Linked DNA regions of Homo sapiens: all the other regions are linked to region 3. Evidence: promoter capture Hi-C in 16 types of primary human blood cells and fetal thymus (Javierre and others, 2016). All regions are on one chromosome and are shown on one strand. The core of a region is centred on a gene start or on the middle of the fragment in contact, and the rest is flanking DNA. Distances in the headings are between cores, read along the strand shown. Region 1 overlaps LRIG2 (leucine rich repeats and immunoglobulin like domains 2). Region 2 overlaps LRIG2 (leucine rich repeats and immunoglobulin like domains 2). Region 3 holds the start of PHTF1 (putative homeodomain transcription factor 1).

Region 1 (4,259 bases), core at 1,564-4,063, 640 kb after region 3:
AAAGCATGATCCTGTAACCTGTGGGACATAATCTAACATGGGACATTAGATTATTCACTCCTGCCAGAACCATCCCCGGGAGTATCACAGTATACTTTGCCTTCCTCTGTAAACCTGTAGTTCTCACCTCCTACCCTGTCTTTTTTTTTTTTTGAGACAGAGTCTCACCCTGATGTCTAGGCTGGAGTGCAATCACTCAATCTCAGCTCACTGCAAGCTCCGCCTCCTGGGTTCAAGTGATTCTCCTGCCTCAGCCTCCCAAGTAGCTGGGATTACAGGCGCCCACCACCACGCCCAGCTAATTTTTAATTTTTTTAGAAGAGATGGGGTTTCACCATGTTGGTCAGGCTGGTCTCGAACTCCTGACCTCATGATCCACCCGTGTCAGCCTCCCAAAGTGCTGGGATTACAGGCGTGAGCCACCATGCCCAGCCTGACCTCCTACCCTATTCCACTGCTCTTCCATGTCAGGCTGACAGAAGGATGAAAGCTGATGAAAAGCTTGGATGGACAGGAAGACACACATGCTCAGCATTACTCTTCATGATTTAGAAAGAGTTTTGTTTCAAATGCCAAGTAGGTTATCAAATGCCTAATCTATACAATATAATGTATATTTCTTTTCCTGGGCCATGTGAGACAGGGGACACAAGCCCAAAACTGCGTTCTCACTTATGACCTTGATCATACCTCATAGAAAAAAACACCCGCCAAGTGAAGCTGAAATTAAATGTTTACCTGCTAAAACAGCAACAAAACAAAACATTTAAAACTCTTCTCAGCCAGGCATGGTGGCTCACGCCTGTAATCCCAGCACTTTGGGAGGCCAAGGCAGGCAGATCACGAGGTCAGCAGTTCGAGACCAGCCTGGACAACATGGTGAAACCCCATCTTATAAAGATACAAAAAATTAGCCGGTTGTGGTTGCACATGCCTGTAATCCCAGCTACTCAGGAGGCTGAGGCAGGAAAATCGCTTGAACCTGGGAGGCAGAGGTTGCAGTGAGTTGAGATCACGCCACTGGACTCCAGCCTGGGCAACAGGGCTAGACTCCATCTCAAATAAAAAAAAAAAAACTTCTCAGTAGGCCGGGCACAGTGGCTCATGCCTGTAATCCCAGCACTTTGGGAGGCCAAGGTGGGTGGCTCACCTGAGGTCGGGAGTTTGAGACCAGCCTGACCAACATGGAGAAACCCCATCTCTACTAAAAATAGAAAATCAGCTGGGCATGGTGGCACATGCCTGTAATCCCAGCTACTCAGGAGGCTGAGGCAGGAGAATTGCTTGAACCCGGGAGGCGGAGGTCCTGGTAAGCCGAGATGGCATCATTGCACTCCAGCTTGGGAAACAAGAGCGAACCTCCATTTCCCAAAAAAAAAAAAAAAAAAAATCTTCTCAGTAAAAACCATCACCAAATTATGCCCAAATTTTATTATTACTATTTTTTGGAGACAGAGTCTCACTCTGTTGCCCAGGCTGGAGTGCAGTGGCACGATCTCAGCTCACTGCAACCTCCATCTCGAGCTTAAGTGATTCTCGTGCCTCAGCTTCCCGAGTAGGTGGGACTACAGGCATGCACCACCATGTTAGGCTAATTTTTGTATTTTTAGTGGAGACAGGGTTTCCCTATGTTGGCCAGGCTGGTCTCAAACTCCTGACCTCAAATGATCCACCTGCTTTGGCCTCCGAAAGTGCTAAGATTACAGGCGTGAGCCACTGTGCCCGGCCCCCCATATTTTATTCTTTTATTTAAATAAAGATCGGAGAAAAATTAATACCCTATATGATACCGGGTGCGGTGGCTCACACCTGTAATCTCAGCACTTTGGGAGGCCAAGGCAGGCAATCACATGAGGTCAGGAGTTCATGACCAGCCTGGCCAACATGGTTAAACCCCACCTCTACTAAAAATACAAAAATTAGCTGGGTGTGGTGGTGCACGCCTGTAGTCCCAGCTTCTTGGGAGGCTGAGGCATGAGAATTGCTTGAACCAGGGAGGCAGAGGTTGGCATGAGCCAAGATTGCACCACTACATTCCAACCTGGATGACACAGTGATACTCTGTCTCAAATAAATAAATAAATAGCCTGTATGAAACCTTTTAAAAGCTTTTTGTGTATGGCCTCTGAATTTTCAGTAGTGTGATCCTGTTACCCCCACAAAAGTTGTTTCCATCCTATAGATGAAGACTTCTTTGTAACTCTAGTATGCAGAAATCTCTGGCTATAGTTTATACCATTTAACAATGGCCAGTTACTCCTATATACCCATCTGCTTGCTTCCTGTCAAATGAGAGCACTACCTATATGATAGAAGGAAGAGTCAATTAGACGAAAGTAAAAACAAAATAACAACAAAAATACATCCCTTACCACCGCTCATCTGTGTGGAGGGAAGTTTCTTCTCACTTATCCTCTCATGGTTGGTGGGAAAGGCAGATGGCTCTCTGTTGGCTGACGGTATCAGGCTCTCTAGGGCAGTAGTATCCTGGGGAGGATGTACTAAATATGTCTCTTTAGGCATTTGGACCATGAGGCTGGACAGTGTCTGATCAAGAACGTCCTCCTCAGCAATATAGGTGTATGGACAGTATTCTCGGGTCCTGGAGTAGATGTTGGCATTGTCATAACAATCTGAGCAAATCACCCGGGTACCAGTGCCACCTAATAACAAGAAAAAGAATCTAAATATCTTTCTGTTAAGGAATTATTTTTTGCCAATCGTCAGTTTTCTTCAAAAGTTGTCATCATCATTGCTAGCATGTATTGAGCACTTACTTTATAAAGTAGGTGAAGTTTCAAGCCATTTCTGTGAATTGATTCATTAATCCTCACAACATCCCTATGAGGTAGGTATTATTATTATCCCCACTTTACAGATAGGGTAAACTAAAGCACAGAGAAGTTAAGTAACTTAACCAAAGTCATACCGCTACCGGGTGCGGTGGCTCACGCCTGTAATCCCAGCACTTTGGGAGGCCGAGGCGGGCAGATCACAAGGTAAGGAGATCTAGACCATCCTGGCTAACACGGTGAAACCCCATCTCTACTAAAAATACAAAAAATTAGCCAGGCGTGGTGGCGTGCACCGGTAGTCCCAGCTACTCGGGAGGCTGAGGCAGGAAGATGGCGTGAACCCGGGAGGCGGAGCTTGCAGTGAGCCGAGATCACGCCACTGCACTCCAGCCTGGGCGACACAGCGAGACTCTGTCTCCAAAAAAAAAAAAACAAAGTCATACTGCCAGAGTGAGGAGCAGAAACAGCCATTCTGGCTCCAGAGCCCATGCTCTTGAAAACTACACTGAACCATCTCTGTCTATTGTGGATAGACAGATCATGCCCAAATCAAGGGAGCAAGATAAGGCTGGTACTGTGCTACAAGACACATGCTTGGCTTAAGCAAACTAAGTCAGAGAATAAGGAGTTATGATGACTTCACTTCATGAAAAACCATGTTACTTTAATGAGTCAAGAGGTTAAGTAACACCAATTGCTACAAGCATCCCTAGGGAAAGCTTCTGACAATGAGAAGTCCTGCCTGACAAGTACATGGTTGACAGAAGTATAGGTTTAACAATGAACTCCCTGGATTATTATGTGCTTTGAAAACTGAATGATGAAGGAGAGAAGAGAGAGTGAGAAATAAAGAGTGAGTTACTTATTCAAAATCATGCAACAGGCCAGGAGCAGTGGCTCATGCCTGTAAGCCCAGCACTTGGGGAGGCCGAGGCAGGTGGATCACCTGAGGTCCGAAGTTTGAGACCAGCCTGGCCAATATGGTGAAACCCCATCTCTACTAAAAATACAAAATAAGCCGGGCATGGTGACAGGTGCCTGTAATCCCAGCTACTCAGGAGGCTGAGGCAGGAGAATCGCTTGAACCGGGGAGGCAAAGGTTACAGTGAGCTGAGATGGTGCCATTGCACTCCAGCCTGGGTGACAAGAATGAAACTCTGTCTCAAAAAAACCAAAAAACAAACAAAAAAAAATCATGCAACAGAATGTTAGAATTGGAAGAGAGTGAAAAGTAATTTAGTTTAACCCAGAAAGCAGTGTTATTTCCCACATACTTCAAAGAACAGACTTTTAAGTATTCTTTTAAAAGTCAGAAATGCCAGCCAGGTGCGGTGGCTCATGCCTGTAATCCCAGCACTTTGGGAGGCTGAGGCAGGCAGATCACAAGGTCAGCAGTTCAAGACCAGCCTGACCAACATGGTGAAACCCGTCTCTACTAAAAATACAAAAATTAGCCGGGTATGG
Region 2 (3,770 bases), core at 294-2,793, 660 kb after region 3:
TGGGAGGCTGAAGCAGGCAGATCACGAGGTCAGGAGTTCAAGACCAGCCTGGCCAAGATGGTGAAACCCTGTCTCTACTAAAAATACAAAAATTAGCTGGGCATGGTGGCATGCGCTTGTAATCCAAGCTACTCAGGAGGCTGAGGCAGGAGAATTGCTTGAACCAGGACCTAGGAGGCAGAGGTTGTAGTGAGCCGAGATCGTGCCACTGCATCCCAGCCTGGGATACAGAGTGAGACTCAGTCTCAAAAAAACGAACAAACAAACAAACAAAGAAACCCCACAGAGCTCCCAGAGTGTCAGAAAGCTCAGACTTTGTAGCCATATGAAATAAACATAATTCAATCATATTTACAGCCGGTTCTTGAAAACATGCCTATGTAGACATACATAAATATTATAATACATACAGTTTAGTGAGACTTGTGAGTCCAGCAAAGGCTTCACTAGCATCTTCTATGGCCCATGAAATTTCATTGTTTCTTAAGTCTCTACAAAAATGTCAGAGAAAGACAGGTGCTATTAGTCAATACAACCATCACAACATTGAGCAGTATCCTGGTATGGTGATGTCAAGGTACACATGCTAATTCTGATCCTTACTTTAACAGTTATTTATGATGAAGGCTCAACTCTGCTTCTTAAGAAATATCTGTAATAAACACGTAAGAAATATCTGTAATAAACACGTAAGAACTGATTCTTATAAGCTAACAATTAAGCTGGCCTTGGTAAATAAAGCAACCTGCTAAAAGTATTACTCTTCCAAGCAAAGAGCCCTTCATTATGTTAGCATATTAAAAATTATAAACAGGGTCCTGAAAAGAGCAGGAGGGTTTCAAGATGCAGGGTATATGGCTTATAAATCTGATTTCAGATTAATGGGATTTCTGGGTGACCCAAGCCTTCCTCTGGGACCTTGAACTTACAATGGCTGACAGAGAGTAATATCAATACAGTTTCATTGCTCAAGAGCAATTAAAGATGCCCCATGGGAAGCAAAAATGATAAACCCATGTGTTAGCGTGTCATCAGATTTTCTTTCAAAGGGAAAGTATGGATCTCCTAAAATTCACTGTTCCATTCTCAGAGGAAATGCAATTGTACCACATCATGTTATGATAAAAGAATTATTTCCATATAATTAAAAATATTTAATCGCTTTTGCTTCCTTAAGTCATCTCATAATAAAGCACAAAGCTTTCTACTTTATAAGGGACATGTAGAGTTGTGTGATTAGCAGTAAAGAGGAGATCCCTGTTTTCACTTAGCTTTCTTTAAGTGAAAAGCTAATAAAGCTCATTTTATTTTACTAAGGAATAAATAATGAAAGAACCAATGGCTCAACTCTTCAGGATTTTCCCCCTCCTCCACAGCACAGCATAAATAGAAACCATTCAACAAATTAAGAACTGTATCTACCCTGGCAAGAGCATGAGGCTAAAGCCAGAATTCCCCAGATTTGATCCTAACTCTGTCTTAACTATCTCTGTGGCACTACACAACCATTTACTTCTGCTATTACTTCCCAAAACTTTAATTCTAAAAGTAATAATCAGTGGTATACTAAAATAACCTATTTGCCATCCCTTCAACTGCCAAAAGGCTGCAGCTACATCTAAGTTTCTGAGATTGCATTGATCCAGTTTCACTTCTGATAATATAGGAAAAGGAAAAATACAATCACTTTTAATTTTTCAAGGCCAAATCTAAAGGAATTTTTTAAAAAATCAAATACACACCTGTGCATGTATATACCCTTCACAAAATTATCTTGTTTTCCCTCTCATTGATGGTTATGTCTCCAAGTTGGGAACCTGCCTCTTCTCTGAACCATTTCAACTCGAAACCTAATGACCACAAAGTCCTCTATTCAGGAAGCTTAAGAATCTACAAATTCTACTAATTACTCTTTGTTTTCTTTTATTCTGCTCTGTGTTTGAGATTACTATATTTCATTAAAATACCTCTTCATTTAATAAAATTATATTCTAAAATTAGATATATTTATATATAAATATATAAAGTTCACAAAAACACATTCTTATATTCTGTAAATTGAATAACTTACAGAACCACAGAATTTTAGCGTGGAAACTGCCTTTAGCAACCATCTAATCCTATATCCTTCCTTCACCGTATAAAGGAGAAAAAAAAATGATGGCCAGGAAAAGCTAAGTGATTTTGTTCTTCTGTTGGTATGATAAAATGGACATGAGCTTTAGCATCAAACAGACCTGGGATCTGATTCTGGCCCAACATTTACAAGCTATGTGACTTAGAGAAAATTATTTAAATTTCTCTGAACCTCAGCCTCCTAATATGGAAAACAGCAGTATCATCCTAGTATTTGAAAGTACCTGGCACATATCAGATAATAAGTATTAGTTTCTTCTGTCCAAAGTCATGTAGCAAACCAGTAACAGTGAACTGGTCTCCTACCACGGCAGTTCCCACTACACAACCTGCATCCTTTCGAATGAGAACTAGTAGCTCTGGTGTATTGTCAAAGTCAAAGGAACAAGAAAATGACTGCTCTCCTGACACTAGCAACTGTGTTTTATTCCACAGCAACTAACACAATAAGACATGCTTTGATGCTTATGGGATTAACTCAGAATTAAACTACAAACTGAATTGCCTACGACAGGCTTGGGATTTTTATGGGGATGGAGACAAATAAGACTGCCTTGCTCTGAGGCATAGGACAGAAGAACCACAAAATGTTAGCATACAGAATTTGCAGACTGATTAGTTGTTTTAATTAATTTGCTTTATTGTACTAAAAAAATCAGTAACAACAACCAAAAAGGAGAATGGATATACTTACAATGTCTGAAGATTGGAAAGAAATCTAAATACACCATCAGCAATATGAGTGACTCTGTTGTCTCCTAAATTCAATCTCTCCAATAAGCTCAGACCCACAAAGGCAGATTCATCCAGGCGGGTCAGCTGGTTATAGGACAAATCACTGAAAACAAGAAATGTGGAAGGTAAGGAATTCATTGTATTTGGTTCAACTTACAATTCTTATTATATCTACATGGTAAATTTAGAGCTTTCTACAAATTTCTAGTAAAGAGGGATGTTACATCTCATTACTGCCCATGGGAATGATTTATTCCAATCTGCTCTAGTCTTAACTGCCTCCAGTGAAATGCTATCCAACACTTACAGTTCGGATAGTCTTTGGCAGAACTCCCATGCATCAGGGCTGATTCTTTCAATAGCATTCTGGCTCACATAGAGCTGCTGTAACATTCGCAAGCCATACAACCACCCCTTGTTTACTCGTGTAAGGTTGTTGTGTTCCAGTTCTCTGCAGAATTAGAGAAAGAGAAGAAAATACGTTCCAAAACAAGGCAGTTCAATAACTAGCTTTAAATCTTAAGTTTTTCCCAGAGAAGCATATACCTTTGTTCAACCCAACTGAGCTGACCAATTCTATTCAATAAAAATGAATATCTTATTTAAGATTTAGTGCTTGGCCGGGCACAGTGGCTCATGCCTGTAATCCCAGCACTTTGGGAGGCCGAGGTGGGCGGATCACAAGGTCAAAAGATCAAGACCACCCTGACCAACATGGTAAAACCCCATCTCTACTAAAAATACAAAAATTAACTGGGCACGGTGGCGCGCGCCTGTAGTCCCAGCTACTCGGGAGGCTGAGGCAGGAGAATCGCTTGAACCCATGAGGCAGAGGTTGCAGTGAGCCGAGACTGTGCCACTGCACTCCAGCCTGGCAACAGAGCAAGACTCTATCTCAA
Region 3 (3,880 bases), core at 1,332-3,831:
GTTGTGTGGCCTTAGTTTGTTTATTGACATTAACGAGTGTTTTAAAAAGGTTTTTAATGAATAGTCTTAAATCTAAATTTGTGTGAATAATCCTTTTAACACAGTGCTTTTTTGTAGCTGTCTAAGTGTGTTAAATTGTTAAGCTATTTCTTTGTAAAATAGGACAATGGAATGCATAGTTTTTTTTTTTCCTGTAAAGTATTTTTTTAATAAAAAAAGTCTGATTTGTCCTTTACTGGTGTTTCATCACAAAATGCATAGCATATGTGAGTTCTAAATACCTGGAACCTGTTTTTAGAGGACGAATCCCTCACCTACTGTATCCCCTACTACTTCAAAAAAAATTTTTAGAAAATCTTATGACTTCTTTCCTAAAGATGTCTGGGGAAAATTCCATCCATATTGAGATGCAATTAGTTTGGGGGAAGAAGAAAAAATACACTTGACATTTGTTGTAGTTAATGCCTCTTAATTGCTTAAATTGGTGTGTATCTACTTAAAAGAGGACAGTCTTAAATTTTTATTCTGGTGATGTGGATTTTCTTGAAAGTGCATTGAGTATTAATGAAGATGGCGTATAGACTTTTATGTCATTGATGTATTAATGTGACACAACAAAATGGATTTCTTTCCTCATCAGTTTTTGTGTGAAGTTATCTTTAATTGAGGTACCTGTCCTAAGCACTGATAGCCTTTGGTTCTGTCTAGGAAAGGAAAAGAAAGGGACTTCACATTTTTTGAGTAACTGCCATGGGCCAGGCAGTTTATATGAGGGTTTCTCATTTAATCCTCACATCCTTAAGAAGGTGACTATCTCCATAATACAGGTGAGAAAACAGGCTTGTTAGTTGAATAAATTGCTTAAGATCACAGATTATTGGTTGGGAGCAAGGATTCAGACCTTGTTCGCTGGTAGCCGCAGGAAGCACTGAATAGTTTCCAACAGGGCACCTGAAAAATGGTTTACTACTTACCACTATTCTCTAATACTTCTTACCTGATTCAGTTCCTCCAGACACTCCCTGAAAATCTGTGTGCCAAACAGTGAAGTAAAGTACTTTTGCTATTAATGTAATTGAGGTTAAATATTTACGTGTGCAAAATTCGACGTTTTTCACTTGTCATTTATCTCTTTTTTCAAGTTGGCCATTTGTCTTGAAGCTCAACAGAATTGTAATGTTTAGCACTAAGGAAAGGAAAAGCTGTCAAGGAGCAAAAGCAGAAGGAAACCACTGCCAATGTGTGCAATATAAAAATAAGGGTAAAATAATTTTTACTTTATTTGAGACAGGTCTCTGTTGCCTAGGCCGAAGTGCAGTGGTGCAATCATAGCTCACTACAGCCTCGAACTCGTGGACTCAGACGATCCTCCTGCCTCAGTCTTCGAAGTAGCTGGGACTACAGGTGCGCGCCACCACCCCCGGCTAATTTTTTTTTTTTAAGAGACGGGGTCTGGCCATGTTGCTAAGGCTGGTCTCAAACTCCTGTGCTCAAGCTACATTTCCGCCTCAGGCCTCCCAAAGCGCCCAGATTGCAGGCGTGAGCCACTGCGCCCAGGCTGGGTGAAGTAATTTGTAAAACTTAGTCCTGTGGGAGTTATTTTAGCTTAGTCGATTTTCCTCATCCGTGAAATGGGATAACTTCCACCTGGTGCCCACTCAATAGATAAGAAGAAATAATGTCTGCAAAACATTGAGTACAGCGCCTCTTAGGCTTTCTTAAGTGAAGCTATCATCTGTCATTAGCTTTCTCTGACCCAGATGCTACACGCTGTGGGCTAGCAAGAACACGGCTTCAAATAAGGTGGGGAGAATGGCTGTAAGGGGACAGTGTTCCATTAATGGCCAAAAAAAAAAAAAAAAAAAAAGCAGCCTAAAAATCCTTTTAACGTATCCTTAAATATTCACTTGAGGGTTCAACCTTTCTTTCCTTTCTCCTGACCTCTATCGGCCCTAATTAACCTGTTCCTGCCGCCACCTAACTTTACCCTAATTTGGAAAAAGCTGTGACTGCCCAATACTTGTTCCTCTTTTCCCCCTACACCTTTGAGCACTAGAAAGCTCCAGACCCAGAGCTGCTGAGGGGCGGGAGAGGAAGGGAGTCACTAAGCCGCAGCCTGGCCCTTCCTCCCAGGGCAGCGTAAATTCACGCAAACATTGATTCGTTCGCTCAACAAACATTGGGAACCTAAGTGCCAGGCTTGTGCCAGGCCCCAGTCTCTGACCTCATGGAGCCCACAGCCCACTGGGGAACAGAGATTAAGCCATGAAACACGAAAATGAGTGCCACAAAGACGTGAGCTACTAGAGTATCAGGACCGACCTCCTTTAGACCGCTGGATGGGAGAGTCGTTTGTGAGGAAGTGACTTTTAAGCTGAGGCCTGAAGGGTGATCTGAGGGAGCTGCTCTTGGCCATCGATATGCCGCGCGACTCCCCAGGCCCTCGGACCCGGAGCCTGGACCAAGGCTGGGCGGGAAGGCCCCGGGCCAGGGGCGGAGCCACCTCGGCGGCGAAAGCCGGAAAGCGGAAGCCGAAGGCTGCTGCCCGGTGGTCGGCTGAGCGGCTCTAGCCCAGATCTCAGACGGCTGAGTCACTGCATCCCGGCGCGGCCCGCAGAAGACGAGCGCCGCTGCCGCCGCCTCCTCCTCCCGGGCTCCCGGGCTCTCGGGGTCCGGGGCCTTTGCACCTGTCTTTTCCAGCTGGGCACAAAGCCTTTTGCTGTCGCCGTGGCGACTGGAGGCCTTCACTTTTAATCCCCCTCATTTTCCAGTTCATTCTCTGCTTATTTTCTGGTCAGTCCGTGACCCTGTAGGCGGCCTCTGACCGGCGATCGATTTGCCGCCCTCAGGGCGCTGGGCGGCCGGCTGCCTCCGAAGCTGGGGCGGCCTCCGCGGTCTCCATGGTAACGGCCTCTCCGGCGTCTCCGCCTGGAGGGGAAGATGCGGCCTGCCTGGCCCGCCGCCTCGCCCCCGGCCTCACGGTGGGACCCCGGGCACTGAGGACGGAGGTCCCGGGCGCCGGCCCGCGGGGCAACGGGCACTAGGTGAGAGCCGGACGCGGGCGAGCGAAGGAGGCGGGTGCCGGGCGACTCCAGCGGCGGCCCCTGCCCCTCCCCCGCACCCACGAACACGCTCGCCCGATATATTGCAGAGGCTTCTCCGGTCGCCGCTGCGCCAGTTTTTTTTTGTTTGTTTGTTGTGTTTTCCCTGGCAAACAGCTGGAGAAAGAGCAGCTCATGGAGAGGCTGAGAGAAGCGGTTTTCGCGTCCTACCCAAACTGGGAGAGTAACCTTCAGCAGCTGGACTCACCGATTGGTTTTCCTTCATTTTCAGTGAAATCCCATTCTCTGGCTGGAGACACAGATGGCCTCAAATGAGAGAGATGCTATATCGTGGTACCAAAAGAAGGTAATACATATATATATTTTTTTTATTTGTAAAGCATTCTTCCTGCAAAAAGCTCCCACAAATAATATAATGTTACTTTCCCCCGAGTTTAGTAGTGCCAGGTGTTCATGTATACTTCAACATAAATGAAAAAAAAAAAAAAAAGATGTACAAGGTCATTATGTCTTTTAAACCCGGTTCCAGGTCCCAGAATAAGGTTTACAAGCCACCTCCTTCAGGCTGCATACACAATGCCACCGCAATGCTTTGAAAGTTTGCTTCTGATCAAACTGCTTAAAAACAAAAAAGACATGAAACCTGTATGTGCACAGCTCAGATTGATACTATCAACAATCTTATTGAGCTGTTCCTTATCTTTTATTCCTCTCTAGTTTTTCTAGTGCTCTTTTCCTTAAGAAGTGGATTTTTTTTTTTTTTTTTTTTTTTTGAGACGGAGTTTCGCTCTTGTTGCCCAGGCTGGAGGGCGATGGCG

Evidence for each region. The method cuts DNA at HindIII sites, captures the fragments that hold promoters and counts their contacts. A CHiCAGO score of 5 or more calls a contact.
Region 1: a fragment that was not itself captured here is called in contact with the fragment with the promoter of PHTF1 in region 3 in 3 of 17 cell types (M1 macrophages, M2 macrophages and erythroblasts); the score reaches 7.2 in M1 macrophages.
Region 2: a contact is called between a fragment that was not itself captured here and the fragment with the promoter of PHTF1 in region 3, in 1 of 17 cell types (M1 macrophages). The highest score is 7.4, in M1 macrophages.

The regions. Positions count from the first base shown.
Region 1 is chr1:113,117,637-113,121,895 of GRCh38, reverse strand. It overlaps LRIG2 (leucine rich repeats and immunoglobulin like domains 2), which reads right to left. Exons shown (of 18, transcript NM_014813.3): 17 at 2,373-2,663. Among named protein-coding and RNA genes, the nearest start is that of LRIG2, 47 kb to the right of the region's middle. The HindIII fragment of the contact is 1,406 bases long and covers 2,111-3,516 here.
Region 2 is chr1:113,095,426-113,099,195 of GRCh38, reverse strand. It overlaps LRIG2 (leucine rich repeats and immunoglobulin like domains 2), which reads right to left. Exons shown (of 18, transcript NM_014813.3): 7 at 3,179-3,322; 8 at 2,831-2,974; 9 at 411-491. Among named protein-coding and RNA genes, the nearest start is that of LRIG2, 24 kb to the right of the region's middle. The HindIII fragment of the contact is 681 bases long and covers 1,203-1,883 here.
Region 3 is chr1:113,758,187-113,762,066 of GRCh38, reverse strand. It overlaps PHTF1 (putative homeodomain transcription factor 1), which reads left to right and starts at 2,581. Exons shown (of 19, transcript NM_001323043.2): 1 at 2,581-3,044; 2 at 3,334-3,408. The coding sequence starts at 3,364. RSBN1 (round spermatid basic protein 1) reads left to right here. Exons shown (of 7, transcript NM_018364.5): 7 at 1-235. RefSeq lists an enhancer at 2,129-2,708 and silencers at 2,859-3,178, 3,812-3,880. The HindIII fragment of the contact is 13,975 bases long and covers 1-3,880 here.